Regions from separate parts of the Homo sapiens genome. Here region 2 is linked to region 1. Evidence: promoter capture Hi-C in human tissues and cell types (Jung and others, 2019). All regions are on one chromosome and are shown on one strand. The core of a region is centred on a gene start or on the middle of the fragment in contact, and the rest is flanking DNA. Distances in the headings are between cores, read along the strand shown. Region 1 holds the start of CRISPLD2 (cysteine rich secretory protein LCCL domain containing 2). Region 2 has its middle 28 kb from the start of LINC02176.

Region 1 (7,122 bases), core at 2,209-4,708:
AAAAGAGGCCACAGTCTCCTCAATAAGTTAAACATAAAGTTACCATATGACCCAGCAATTCCCTCCCAGGTAAACACTCAAGAGATATGAAAACATCCGCCCTCAAAAAACCTTGTACACAAATGTTCACAGCAGAAGCCTCTGTAAAAGCCAAAGGTGGAAACAGCCCAGATTTCCTTCAGTGGAAGAATGAATAAACAAAACGTGGTCTATTAATGCAATGGAATATTACTCAGCCATAAAAAAGGAACGAAGGTCTCATACACATTACAACATGGATGAACCTTGAAAACATGATGCTGAGTGAGAGGAGCCAGACACAAAAGGCCACACATTGTGTGGTTCCATTTACATGAAATGTCCAGAATAAGCAAGTTCGTAGAGACAGAAAGGAGATGAGCGGCTGAAGGGAGGAGAATGGCGAATGATGCCTAATGGGCCTGGGGTTTCCTTACGAGATGATGAAACGCTCTGGAATTAGTGGTGGTGGCTGCACAATACTTCCAATGTACTAAACGCCACTGAATTGTACACTTCAAAATGGGTTAAATGGTAAATTTTATGTTTATGTGTATTTTTACCACAATACATCTTTTCAGGAAAAAGAAAAACAGAACATGGCCCATCCTATTAACCACCACCCAGATCTACCTGTCCCTTGCCTGTCCCAGAACTCAGCGTGCTCTATTTAAGACTTTACAACGTGCTTTAGGTCCCTGTCCCTGGAAGGTCTGAGCATCTGTTCCACTCAATGAACTGAAGACGAAGTGAAATATGCCCAGATTGAATTTTCCTTTCCTGACAAGCCGTCAGCCCGTTTGAGTGATCCTGGGTTTGCACATCTGGGACTGATCAAAAACCAGTGCGTTTGCAAAAGAAGAAAAAAGAAAAAGAAAGAAAAAGCCTCCTGAGTCTGGCGCAGGCAGACATGCAGACACCTCCCACACACAGCAAATGACGCTGGTGACAGAGGAAAGAAAAGTTCCAGTTCCCACAGGCCAAAGAGGTCAGTGCCCTGCCTCCAAAAACTTTCTGACCTCCAAAGACGTCAGAGGGTCCTGCCTCCAAAAACTTTCAAATGCAACTTACAAAGGGCCACATACTTAATTTGTGGTCTTTTGAGGGATGAAGTGCAGAGGTTTTAAGAGACCTCGCAGTCTTCTTCCCTAGCTCAGGCCTTCCCAGTCAAACCAACTCTCCTCTCCAGGACAGAGGCAGGACTCAGAACCAGCACTGATTTGGGTCCTGGGACGGGGCTCTCAGTACCTGTCAGCAATGTTGAGCCCAAGCCCAGGGTCAGTTGATCCCCTCCCAGCCTCACCCCAACAGGGACCAGGGACCCAGATCCCTGCCAACGTTAAAAAAACTCCCACATGGCACAGAAAGCCTCAACTAGCAGCAAGCTCTGCTGGGACAGTCATGTGGCTGGTCATTAGATGGGCACCTTCCCCCAGAATCTGGGGCAGGGCCCAGCCTGGACGGCAGCTCTACCCCGCCCTGGCTGTGTCATGTTGGGCACACACCTTAATAATTCTGAGCCTCAACTAACTCCTTGTAAAAAGTGCCCAGCTAATAGAGCAGGCAGTGAGCTCATCCGTGGAAACCCTGGGCATGTCTGGTCTGTACTAAGCATCATGTAAATGTCAGCTGCTTGTATTATTACAAATGGCATTATTACTATTCCTACTCTCACATCTTAAGAAACTCTGAAAAAATCAAAATCACCCTCTTGGTTTCTCCTCCCTGGGTACATTGTCCAGTGGTTTTAACTGGAGCCCCTGTAAGACAAAACATCACCTGTGTGAAGGTCAGGTTCATGGGTGGAGTTGGCAGTGGGCAGGGAAGTGTCTTAAAGAAAGCAGGGTCAAGAGTGCAGATAGGACCCACCTGGGGGTGACAGCATTCCATACCAGCTGGGGGATCTTAGGCAAGCACTTCACCTTGCTGAGCCTCAGTTTCCTCAGCTGTGAAGTGGGCATCAAGAGGCCTACTCCCCGGGGTGTTGCAGCGATGACAATACAGGTAAACTGCGTGGCACAGACCGCGTGCCTGCCGCACAGGCAACACAGTCACACACCCACCCCTTCTCCTGAGTGGGAACAGCCAGATCAGGGGCAGAAGCAGAAAATCAGGTGCATACAACCCAAGGAGCCCTGGGACAGCCGACAGTCACAACTCATGGCCTCAGTCTACTGGAAAGGACCACGCCCCGGTCCTGTTCTGCAGGCTCTCCTCACTGTCAGACATCAGACCCTGGATGGGGAAAGCAGGCTCACCCCATTCTACCAGGGCAAGAGGTCCAAAGGCCCAAAGGGGAAACTCACAACCCCACTCTCGGTTGCAAGGCAAGCTAGGCATTTGCACGGGATGCTTCTCTCAGCCAGGGCAGCAACTCACATTTTGGCTGAGAGACGCCCAATTCAAGTTGGACTGCGATGAGCAGGCATCAGCGAAGTCCTCCCTGGCTTGTCCACCAGCCCAGCCTTAGCAAGGGAGGCTCTGGGTCTGCAGCACATGAGGGACTAGCCCTGGCTCTGTCCACGTGGGACGACCGATCTCCCCCACACTCCAGAGTGAGCCCTCCGCTTCCAGGGTAACTCTCCCCACGCAGGAGTTATGCAGGTGCCCGCTCTGGCTAAAGAAACCCAGAAACGTGTTCCCCCAGACTGCAGAACCCTGACATGGCCCCAAGTCTCTACACATCCATTTGAAGCTCTGGAGACAGACAGAGCTGGGTTCCAGCCCTGGCTCTGCCCGGACAACTTACTTCACCTCTCTGACCCTCAGCATCTTCATCTGAAATGTGGGAAGAAGGCTACCTTGCAAATGAAATCACAGAGGGGCGTGGCCCTCTAAACTGCAGCTGAATGCACATGCCACTAGATCACCCTGGTCCTCCAGACATGAGTAGGACACATTCTAATGCCTGCCATATCCATGCCATCAGCTTTCCAGTTATTGACACCCACTACGAACACAGGAATGCAACAAATGCTAGTGAACTGCACGAGGAAGGCAAGAGAGTAAACAGCCTCTAAGGAGCAGGATTCTGCGCTCAGATCGGCGTTGAATCCTGGGTCCTTGGAGTCCTGGCTGCGAGGTCCTGGACAAATGAGTTGTCCTCGCTGAGCCTCAGTTTCTCCATCTGCAAAAGGGCATGTCGCAAAGCTGTGTTCCGCTATGCAAGCAGAGCACTCGGTGTGGTGCCAGCACACAGTCAGCCCTGCGAGGTGGCATCTGTCCTAGTTATTCCAGCTTCTCGGGGGGGTAACAGTTTGCAAAAGGGAGAAGCATGGAAATCACACTTACCTCCGCAGGGCTCCAATCACCAGCTCGCTGGCGTCTCCCGCGTCCAGCAGACGCGGTAGCAGCGGCGACAGCGCGGGCACAGCAGGCACAGCGGGCACAGCGAGCAGACAGCTCAATAGGAGCAGCCGGAGACGCCCTGGGATGCGAGTGGGTGCCGGGGCTCAGCGTACCGCCTCTTGTAGGCTCCCCGGAGCCCGGAGGCCACGCCCCCAGATCGCTGGCGGCGCTGGTAGGACCGAGCATCACCGGCCCCGCCCCCGGCCCCGCCCCGCAGGCTCAGCGGGCTGAAGGAGGCGGGGGGCAGCTGAGGCGCGGGCGCCGGGTGGGCGAGGAAGGCGGGGCCGCTGGCCTCCAGGGCCGGCTAGGGACAAGGAGACGCTCAGCTCCCTCGCCACTGGCCACACAAGCATAGTTTTCATTGAGCGCTTACTATGCGCCTGGCGCGGTGCCAAGCGCTTCCCACAAGGGGCTTGCAAATTTACCAAACCCCAGCTCTCTGCAGCTCAACTGGAAAATAGGAATAAGGAGGCGACCTCCCAGGATTTTAGCAAATGAAATCCGCAAGGGCTGGGCGCTGTGAACTGTGGCGCGGTGCAGAGTACACAGTTACTGAGGTGACTCCCACCCTCTACACGTGCTCAGAAAACTTAGGCCCCCTCTTCCCAATTTGCAGACGAAGAAAGGGAGACTTGTTTCCGGATGGGGCCGCTAGCGCGGGGATCCAGGCTCCGCACTTTACCTTCAACGACCCTAGGACGCGTTCCCAGGAATCCAGGGAGGTGGAAATCACCTCATTTCACAGATCCAGTAGCTGAGGCTTGGAGAAGAGCGTGCCCCAAGTCCCGTAGCTAGGAGCAGTGCAGCATGTTCATATCTCTTTTGCCCGGAGGCATTTAGCATTTTTAACCTGTGCAGGTACATACGGAAATCAATTTAGAGCCAGACGAAATCACCTTTGAAACAGGTAAATCCACGTTCCTTAAGAGCTAAGGGACTGCCCCGTGCTCCCGCCTCAGTCACAAAATGTGGACGGGTATGCAGGCACTGCGCGGTAAGGTGCTGGGGCCCAAGGGCAGGAGGGGGCCTGTCCGCACTGCTCATCTCCGCACCAAGACACCGGAATTAGCTCCTCCAGCATTAACTCATTCCCCAAATACCCATCGAGTCGCTCTGTGCCGGGCCCTGTGCTATACAGCAGGCACAAACAAGACACCTCCGGGATCTCAGAGTCTGGGGCCCCCACGAGCTAGGGCACGTGGGAGAAACAAGGATGGGGAATGGGTGGAACAAGGACTATGGAAGGCTGCCTGCGTGACGTGGACTCAAACAGGGAAGGCTTGCCTAAGATTTTGGTGCGGCTCAAATGCAGATACAGAATAATGCAGACTGGCCGGGCGCGGTGGCTCACACCTGTAATCCCAGCACTGTGGGAGTTTGAGGCGGGCGGATCACCTGAGATCAGGAGTTCGAAACCATCCCGGCCAACATGGTGACACTGTCTCTACTAAAAATACAAAAATTAGCCGGGCATGGTGGTGCATGCCTGTAGTCCCAGCTACTTGGGAGGCTGAGGCAGGAGAATCGCTCGAACCTGAGAGGCAGAGGTTGCAGTGAGCTGAGATGGCGCCATTGCACTCTAGCCTAGGAGACAAGAACAAAACTCCATCTCAAAAAGATAATAATAATGCAGATGTTTTCTGTTATCTTTTTTTCCTCTTTTTGTTTTACTTTTCTCAGTCTTTGAAGCATCATTCTTCAGAGGCACTCAACTGGCATGCAGTCATCCAATAATTAAGCACCTACTATGTGCTGGGCTCTGTTTCAAGCACTGGAGGGCTCAGTAGTGAATAAGACTGTTCCAGAACAACAGTCCTTGGATTGACAAAAGACAAATCCAAGGGGAGAAGAGATCTGTGTTAGCAGATGCCTTTGGAGGCCTGGCACGATGGCTCAGGCCTGTAATCCCAGCACTTTGGGAGGCCCAGGCAGGTGGCTTGAGTTCAGGACCAGCCTGCAACATGATGAAATCCAGTTGCTACAAAAAGTAGCCAGCATGGTGGCATATGCCTGTGGTTCCAGCCACTCAGGAGGCTGAGGTGGGAGGATTGCCTGAGCCTGGGAGGTGGAGGTTGCAGTGAGCTGAAATCGAGCCACTGCATCCCAGCCTGGGTGACAGAGCAAGACCCTATTTCAAAACAAAACCAACCAACCAAACAAACAAACAACAACAAAACAGATGCCTCTGAGTACCTGACCCCAAAGCATTATACTGCCAAATCCTGCCACCCCCAACAACCCTCCAGGCTGGTCCTGTTATTAGCCTCATTTTTTCAATGATGGAACTGAGCACAGAGAGTGTAAGTCACTTCCCTGAGGCCACACAGCCTCTGAATAGAAGAGCCAGGATTTGAATTCACACTCTCACCCACGTGGCTGCCATTGCCTGTGACCATGAAACCTTGGGTGCAGGGGAATGGAATGAACTGGGTCCCTACTCCATCCCCACTCCAGCAAAGAGGAAGGAAAGCTACACGGAATCAGCCTCTACATAGGCCCAGCAGGTGGAACGGGGGTTGGCAGTTGTCAATAGTGAAATGTTTGCCACTTTGCTAATCCAACCCTCATCTCCTTACAGATCCTTTGTATGGCAACCCTGTAGGCTCCTCACCGGCCCAAGTTGGCTTTGGGGAGACCCAGCCCAGCCCAGACGCTCCAAGGACCCCATTGGCAGAGCTGCAACCAGAGACCACTGCTCTGCAAGCCACGATTGCTGTCCGGGCAGTCTCACCCACGGGGCAGACTGAATCCTTAGCTTGCTGGTTTGTGTCATCATCCGGCATCAGGCTCAGTTCAAATCCCAGCTCCTCCACTTCCAAGTTGTTGGCCTTGAGCAAGTCACTTAATGTCGCTGCGTTCCATGCCCCATCTGTGAAATGAATGTGGTAATAATGGCATCTCTGTCTCTCTCTGTGGGCACAAATGGTTAATAGATGGGAAGTAATACGTGGCCTGACACACAGAAAGTGTTAGTTAATACCGTTATTATTAGAGCCAGTAAAGCAAAGAGAGAGAGAGGAGTTTAGTGGTGATCAACTTTTCCATCATGTTGCAATCTCAGAATCTAATTTCCAAAAAATAACATTTGAATTTGAAAAAAAAAAAATGGTGTTTCATGGGCAAGGGGGACCCCTGGGAAGTCCCAGATGGGAGAGCACCAACTTGTACCAAGGAAAGGGGCAAGATGGCCAGTCCCGTCCCAAGTGCCCCCTGGGAAGGGACTGGTCACTGATACCCTTGGACATCCCAGGAAAGGCTCCTATTTGCTACCCAGGCAGGGAGTTAAGTCATGGACAGTTTGAGACAAAGGAAAAAAGTCATCCTTCTGGTCACAATGAAGCCCAACCTGGAAAAACGAACAGGAAAGCCTGGTGGGGCCACCCTGGAGAGCCCAGCCCTCTGCCCACTCTCTCTTGGGACCAAGATGGGCCGACAGAAGGACCGCATGCATGTCTGCAGAACGGTGGCTGGGGCCGGCGGTCATAAATGTTTAATTACGTGATGTAAAGATCAAGGTCGTTCTTTCCTCTCGATGTGATTGCTGTAGGGCTCCTGTCCTCACACCAATTTCTTATTCATCATTTATTTTTATTGGAGGCTCTATGAACTGGACATCAAGAGCAAAGGCCGGGGAGTCCCAGCTTTTCATTTGTTCCTGCCACACCCATTCAGCAGCTGCAGAATGTCACCAGCCCTCAATTTGGCATCAAAGACCACTAACAAGCCTGGGCAACATGGCAAAACCCCGTCTCTACA
Region 2 (7,213 bases), core at 3,479-5,978, 130 kb before region 1:
CACGGCCTTCATGCACTGGCCTCACATGCTCCCCCTGCCCGAGTCACCCCAGCACTGCACTCCAGGGGCCCCACACTCCATTCACCCCCCAAACACACTGCACCCCCTGCAGGACGGGCCTTGCCTGTCATTGTGGGTGTCAAAGTACCAGGGACTGCCAGCAGGAGGAATTCCTCCTCCTGGGACCTCAGCGTCCTCTTCTGGAATATGGAGTCTGAGGGTGTGAAGGTGGCTTCAGGCCTCATGGGCATGGCCGACTGGTGTCCTCCTGGCCTCGGGCAGCTCTGCAGATGTTGTCCCCACACACATTCCTCGCAGGGCCTTCCCAGCAGCGGGTGTGTGCCTGGGTGTTCCAGGGAGGGCCAGGGTGGCCATACCCGGTCTGACCTGACCCCTTCCTGGGAGGGGGCACTGAATGGGAACTGCCAACAGACAACAGTGCAGGAGTGTGGTCTGTGTGGAGCAGAGGAGGTCGCCTCTGTGGCTTTCAGTGGCTGCACGTCCCAGGCTGGGCCGAGCCACTGGGCTCAGTGAGTCCTGCGGGCACAACCTCAGGCCTGGAGCCTGCTTCTGTTTCAACAGGGCTGAGGCTGAAAAAGAACCATGTTGCCCGGGCCGAATTTGCCCGCCAGCCCACTGGGCCGCAGCATCCCTTCCCAAGCTGGCCACGCAGCAGGTTACAGAGCCAGAGTGAACCATCCTAATTTGAACTCTAAAATTCCTTGTGAGCCTCTCCCTTTTGCCAGGAATTCAAAGGACTCGGTCCAATGTCTGGGCAAGAAGGAGGCTGACCTGTTTCCACGGACCTGGTGGAACTGGGCGGCAAAAGCTGTGGCTGTGAACTTGGCTCCTTCCTTCCCTTGTGGGGGACCTCAGACTAGTGCTGCTATCAGTACCTCAGTTTCCCCATCCATAACATGGGACATGATGTCCACAGGTTTCCCAGGGTTGGGATGCCTCCACACCTCTCAGTCTGGGGAGGGTCATGGATGGGGGTGGGAGGGAGGGGACTCTGAGCCCTCCCCTTCTCCTTTCCATCCCTTTCTGCCTCAACTACAGCAACTGAGGGTGTTCTTCCAAGTAAAAGTTCACTTGAAAGTATGTCCTGAAGCTAACAGAGGTGTGAGAAACCCATGACCAGCAGTCCGAGATCTCATGGCCCTGACATCCAGTCCAGGGACCCTTGGGTTGCTGTCAGATGGCAGAGAGAAGGGAGGCCTGGACCACCCTGCTTCCTTCCCAGCCTTCCAGAAGCTGAGCTTATTCCAGTCATGTGATGCTGGAAGAGCTGCCAATCACAGGACCCCATCCCTGGATACGCATCTGACCCAGGCCTGGCCAATCACAAAGCTCCTACCCAGTGGCCACCATGATAGTGCCCAGGGCTAGGCACATGACCACACCCAGCCAATCAGAGTCCTTCCCTGGGTGTTTCTATTCTGAAATAGGTGGAGAGAGGCCTTTTCAGAACTTTTTCACCAAGGTAAGCAGACCTAAGCCAGGGCTGCCTGCATCATGTTTCCCACTGCTGGGAGAAAAACCTGCCCACTTGGGGAGAAAATGAGGTCCCTGCAGAGCAGCCAGGACAGGAACAGATGGCAAGAACGTGCATTCTCAGCACTGAGGCCCCGGTTTCAGCCTTTGTGGCCCTCAGCATGGCCCTGGGGCTGAAGCTTCCTCTGGTTTGAGTTTCTGTCACTGACAACCATGGAGTTCTGCCTGACTCAGCACCACCGGGAAAGGTAAAGAACTCTTCTTCAATAGCCAAGTCCCTAGAGGCAGTTTCAAGCTTCTGGAGGGCAAGTGGAAGTAAGAACTTCACTTTCTATTTACTTATTTATTCTGCAGTATCAAATGCAGGTTGGGGCACCCCACCGGTGCTGGATAGACTCAGAGGATAGGGAGAGGGGAGGCGGGAAGAGCAAGGAGGTAGAGTCATTTCATATGGGACCTGGCAACTGGCCAAGAGCGACCCTAACTCCAAACTGCAGGGGGACTGGAAGACCCCGAGGGCATCATAACCCCTCACCCAGAGTCACACACAGGGCCTGTGAGGCAGAACCTGACCCAGAACCCAGTTCTCTCGACTCCAAAACCCATGTCCACAGGCTTTTGAATTTCATAAAAATTCAGAAGAACCTTTTGAGAATGATAAAAGATCAGCAGATAGACATCCGTAGCCGTCTGTGTCCACGGTCCCTCCAAAAAAGGACAGTTTAGCCCCCAACACTGAAGGAAGGTCATAATCTGAGTAAGGGCCAGTTCTTGAATTAGGATTTATCAAGGGACACCTGATTTTCTTGTGTTTCCTCAAAGCGTTGACTACTGGGCAATGGGTGGCAGTGGACAGGTGTGTGTGTCTCCTGGGGATGCTGTAACAAAGTGTTGCTAACTGGGGGCTTAGGACAGCAGAAACGTGTGTTCTCTCTGTTCTGGAGGCAGAAGTCTAAAATCAAGGTGTGGGCAAAACCATGATCTCTCTGAAAGTTCTAGGGGAGTGTCCCTTGCTGCCTTGTCCAGCTCCTGCTCACTGCCAGCAGTCCTTGGCGTTCCCTGGCCTGTAGACACATCACTGCAACCTCTGCCTCCATCCTCATATGGGCTTCTCCCCATGTTTGTGTCTAAATTTTCCCCCCTACCTTTTTGTTTTTTTTTTGAGATGGAGTCTCGCTCTGTCGCCCAGGGTGGAGTACAGTGGCACAGTCTCGGCTCACTGCCACCTCTGACTCCTGGGTTTAAGCGATTCTTGCATCTCAGCCTCCTGAGTAACTAGAATTACAGGTGTGCACCGCCACTCCTGGCTACTTTTTGTATTTTTAGTAGAGACGGGGTTTCACCACGTTGGCCAGGCTGGTTTCGAACTCCTGGCCTCAAGTGATCTACCCACCTCGGCCTCCCAAAGTGCTGGGATTACAGGTGTGAGCCACCACGCCTGGCCAATTTTCCTCTTCCTGGAGTCCAGTGGCACAATCTTGGCTCACTGCAACCTCTGCCTCCTGGGTTTAAGCGATTCTCCTGCCTCAGCCTCCCAAGTAGCTGGGAGTACAGGTGTGAGCCACCACGCCTGGCTAAATTTTTGTATTTTTAGTAGAGATGGGGTTTGGTCATGTTGGCCAGGCTAGTCTTGAACTCCTGGCCTCAAGTGATCTGCCCACCTTGGCCTCCCAAAGTCCTGGAATTACAGGCGTGAGCCACCGTGCCTGGCCCAGTTTCTCTCTTCTAAGGACACCAGCCATTGGATTAAGGTCTAGCCTACTCCAGTGTGACCTCATGTTAACGAATTATATTTGCAAAGATTCAATTTCAAAATAGGGTCACATTCACAGGTTTCGGGGATTAGGACCTAAACGTATCTTTTTCGGGGACACAATTCCACCTGGTAGAGTGGGTCAGCATTATGCCTGCCCCCCAACGTACTTTGCTGCCAGCAAAGTGTGAGAAAGACTGAGCCAAGGAGCCATTACCTCCTGGCCTGGGGGTACCGTTGGGGACCCCTGGGCCATTCCACTTTCCCTGGCAGCTGTAGGCTTATTTCCCTTCCAAGGAATGGCTGCCCTGAGGTCAGCCAAGCCAGGTGGAACACAGAGCTTTAGGGCCAGGCCCTGACCTAAGCTCCCTGGGGAGGGAGCACCTTTGACTTTTGGAACGGGAGGGCAGGAAGGTTTGGCCTTGATTGGAGGGCTCTGGGGCACCTGCCAGGCTGCAGGTGTTGACACCTAGCAGCCGCCAGCCCGACCTGATCCCCAGTGCCCAGGCAGGGACCAGAGCGGCTCCCAGGTAGCTGGTGCTGCAGGGAACCTTGGGAGCTCTGCCAAACCAAACAACACATTTCCAGAGAGGTGTGCTGACTGGCCTGAGGTCACACAGCGATCAGACAGGGCCAACATGGGTGGCCGGGGCCCCAACCACATTCCTGCCAATTTGAGCTTCTTAGCCTTTTACCCACCAAGAGGGCACAGGGTGTGGGGGGTAAGTAGTTTTTTTGCCCATGGGAGCCCAGGGCTGATTTTATTTTGAGACAGTCTTGCTCTGTCACCCAGGCTGGAGTGCAGTGGCACCATCTCAGCTCACTGCAGCCTTGCCCTCCCCGGCTAAAGTGATTCTTCCACCTCAACACCCCAAGTAGCTGGGACCACAGGTGTGCACCACCCTACCTGGCTCATTTTTAAAAATTGTTTTTGTAGAGATGGGCTCTCGCTATGTTGCTCAGGCTGGTCTTGGACTCCTAGCCTCAAGCAGTCTTCCTGCCTTGGCCTCCCAAAGTGCTGGGATTACAGCATGAGCCCCACGCCCGGCCAGGGTTGATTTTATAATAGCTTTGTAGTGGCAATCAGGAAGAATCTGTCACCCAATTAGCAGCCAGAATGGAGCTGTGTCAGCAGATGTTTGGGAAAAGGGGCGAGAGGACTGACGTGGCCTGAACCCCTCCTCTGTGCCAGCACTTTCCGCACAGGCTGTCACCAAGTCCCAGCCTCTCCCCTGAGAGGCAGTTAGACACACACCTCACCTGTAGGCAGCCGGAGGTCCACGCAGCTTGGAGTCAGCCTGGAGTTCCCGTCCCTGCTCAGGTCCCCAAGGGGCGTCAGTTCATCTCAGAGAGCCTCAGTTTCCCCATCTGTGAACTGGGGATCACAGGCCCAGTCTCACAGGTGGTCACGAGGATTAGGAATCACATCCCAGGAACGGCCACATAGGAGCTCAAGAAAGATGACGGGTGGATTTTCGACGGGTTCTGTAACAAATGTCCACAGACTTAGCAGCTTAAAAACCTCATTTGTCATTTACGGTTCCACAGGTCAGAAACCCAGCCTCAGTCTCCCTGGGCTTGGGTCACGGTCAACAGGGCTGGTAACTTCTGGGGGTTCTGGGGGAGAATCTGTTTCCCTGCCTTTTCCAGCGTCCAGAGGTCACTGGCATCCCATGGCTCCTGGCCGCTTCGTCCACCTTCAGAGCCGGCAATGTTGCATCTCTGCTGCTGCTTCGGTAATCACAGCACCCTCGGAAAGGTTCTATCACGGCTCCCTCTGACCACAGCTCAGAAAGGTTCCACCACGGCTCCCTCCGACCGCAGCTCAGAAAGGTTCTCTGATTCTAAGGACTCGTGTGACTCGATTAGGTCCACCTGGATGACCCGGGTTACCCTCCCTATGGCAAGGTGCCCCTTGCCCCACCTGCAAAGTGCCTTTTGCCACGTCAGGTAACCTGCACAGGTTTGGGGAATTAGGGCGAGCTGAATCGCCGAGCTCATCGGGCCACAGGTGAGTTGAGTTGAATTCTGGAAAGCAAGGGAGGCCTGGGCTGGCCTCTGGCGGTTCTTTTTGGAAGAAGAAGATTCCACTAAAACCAGCTCATTCTAGGACCACTTCCCATCTTTCTGCTGTTTTTGACTCTTTTCAAAGAGGCCCTGTCTAGCCAAGGAGACTGGGTCACGTCTGCCAAACCTTTGCTTCAAAATAAACCCTACTAGGAAATTTCCATGGGACTGGGCCCTTTTCTTCCCCCACGGACCTGCTTGAAGTTCAAAACCTGGCGGGGCTTCTGTACAAAAGGGCACCGGTCATTACGCGGCCCTGAGAGCAGGTTTTCTGTTGTTGTTTGTGTGGGTTTTGTTTGCTTTCCCCGTCTCCATCTCTCCACCCGGTGGGGTCGTAGCAAGATGGTCACCTCTGTCACCTCCCCCAAGTCCCTCTTGCAGCCGCCTCCTTGCTGTTTGCCTTTCTGTCCCCAGGGCTGCATCTTGCACGTGTCCCCTGTCTGATTTCCACTGTGGTCAGGTCACGTGTGGCTCTGGGAATTCCAGGAAAGCCTGGCTTTCAAGACCACTGTCTCATCAAACACTTAAACCTTAAAAACCCTTATTTTGATGCTCAAAGCTGAGTGTGGATTCCTCTGTACCTGTTCTCTTCCCTGAGCAAGAAGCCTCATTTTCAGAGCCTGGTCGTGATAGGAGAAGAGGTGCTGGGGGCCCCCAAAAGAAACTTCCGGAGCTATTTCATAACATCCTTTGCCTGTAGACGTAAAGCCAGCAGCCAGCAAGTGGCAGTCCATTCATGGGACACAGCCCTCTCCAGGAATCACTAAGCTCATATTTGCTGCTCTGTGCTGGGGCTCTCTGGAAGGACAAAAGACACCAGCAATGTGGAAGGGAAATGGGGCTTTGGGATGGGAGGGGACTTGGTTTCCTGACCCTTTTGCACCGTGACACTGGACATGTGTCTGAGTGTCTTTTACTGAAGGAGGAAACATTCCTTCTCTTGCCTCTTTCCAGAAAAGGTCAGGTGGCTCAATTCATCCTGTCTGAAATGAAGAATGAAACAGTTGGTGGTGGTCTTTTGCTGGCAGGCTGTACTTTGGGAAGTCCCCAGGCCATGGCTGATAAGGGCCTGCGGCCTATGGTGCAGTCTCAAGCAGAGAGAGGCCACAGGCATGTGAGGGAGGCCCTGGCCTTGGGGCCCCCTTTGTCTGGCTGGTGGAGTTTATCTCCCTTCCCAGATGAGGCCAGGAGCTGTGGAGTCAGCTCCTGGCCTCTCTGCCCATTGGCTGGCTGTCTGCCTGGGGCCTGAGATTCACCAGCCCTGCACGAAGATTAAGGGGATCAGGATTCCATCCCCTCCCCTTGCTCAACCTCTGAAGTCAGGTCCCAGCCAGGCACCCATTGGAGAAAACCCAGGCTAGCCAGACCTTCTGCCGTCTGGGTCAGCTCCGTGTAGCGCTGGCCTGTCTGTCTGGTGTCTCCTGGAGAGCATGACTTGGTGGTGTGCCATCTCAAATGTCTCCCGCCAGCTGCAGACTTGGTTATTGCCTTTTGTGAGCGGTGTTCACCCAGCGTTAATGGAATGGGCATTCTCTGAAGGGCTGCAAGTAACACTTAGAACCAAGCCCAGGACTGGCCGGGCAGCAATGTCTGCAGCCTGGAGCTGCCCATGTATGTTAAGAGTGTCATTCCCTAAAAGGCCACCAGAGGGTGCTGCTCAGAGCCACATCGCGACAAACCCTCTATGGCTCCTTATGGCTCTCAGGATGAGGGCTGGGGCTCACAAGCCGGTGTACAAAGTTGTGAATGATCTGGCCGCTGACCTCTCCAGCTCCATCTTATTCTCCTCCGTGCTATGTGTTCCAGCCACGCTGGCTTCCTCACAGTTGCTGGAAAAGATTATTTCCTGCAGCCGCAGGTCTTTTGCACATGTTATGCCCACTTCTTTTTTTTTTTTTT

The links. Contacts are between HindIII fragments. The study calls those that stand out against the background at their distance.
Region 2: a contact is called between a fragment that was not itself captured here and the fragment with the promoter of CRISPLD2 in region 1, in 1 of the 25 tissues and cell types used here (mesenchymal stem cells).

The regions. Positions count from the first base shown.
Region 1 is chr16:84,816,321-84,823,442 of GRCh38, reverse strand. It overlaps CRISPLD2 (cysteine rich secretory protein LCCL domain containing 2), which reads right to left and starts at 3,458. Exons shown (of 15, transcript NM_031476.4): 1 at 3,310-3,458. RefSeq lists a silencer at 3,496-3,685. The HindIII fragment of the contact is 19,202 bases long and covers 1-7,122 here.
Region 2 is chr16:84,952,139-84,959,351 of GRCh38, reverse strand. No RefSeq gene overlaps it. Among named protein-coding and RNA genes, the nearest start is that of LINC02176, 28 kb to the right of the region's middle. The HindIII fragment of the contact is 5,993 bases long and covers 1,732-7,213 here.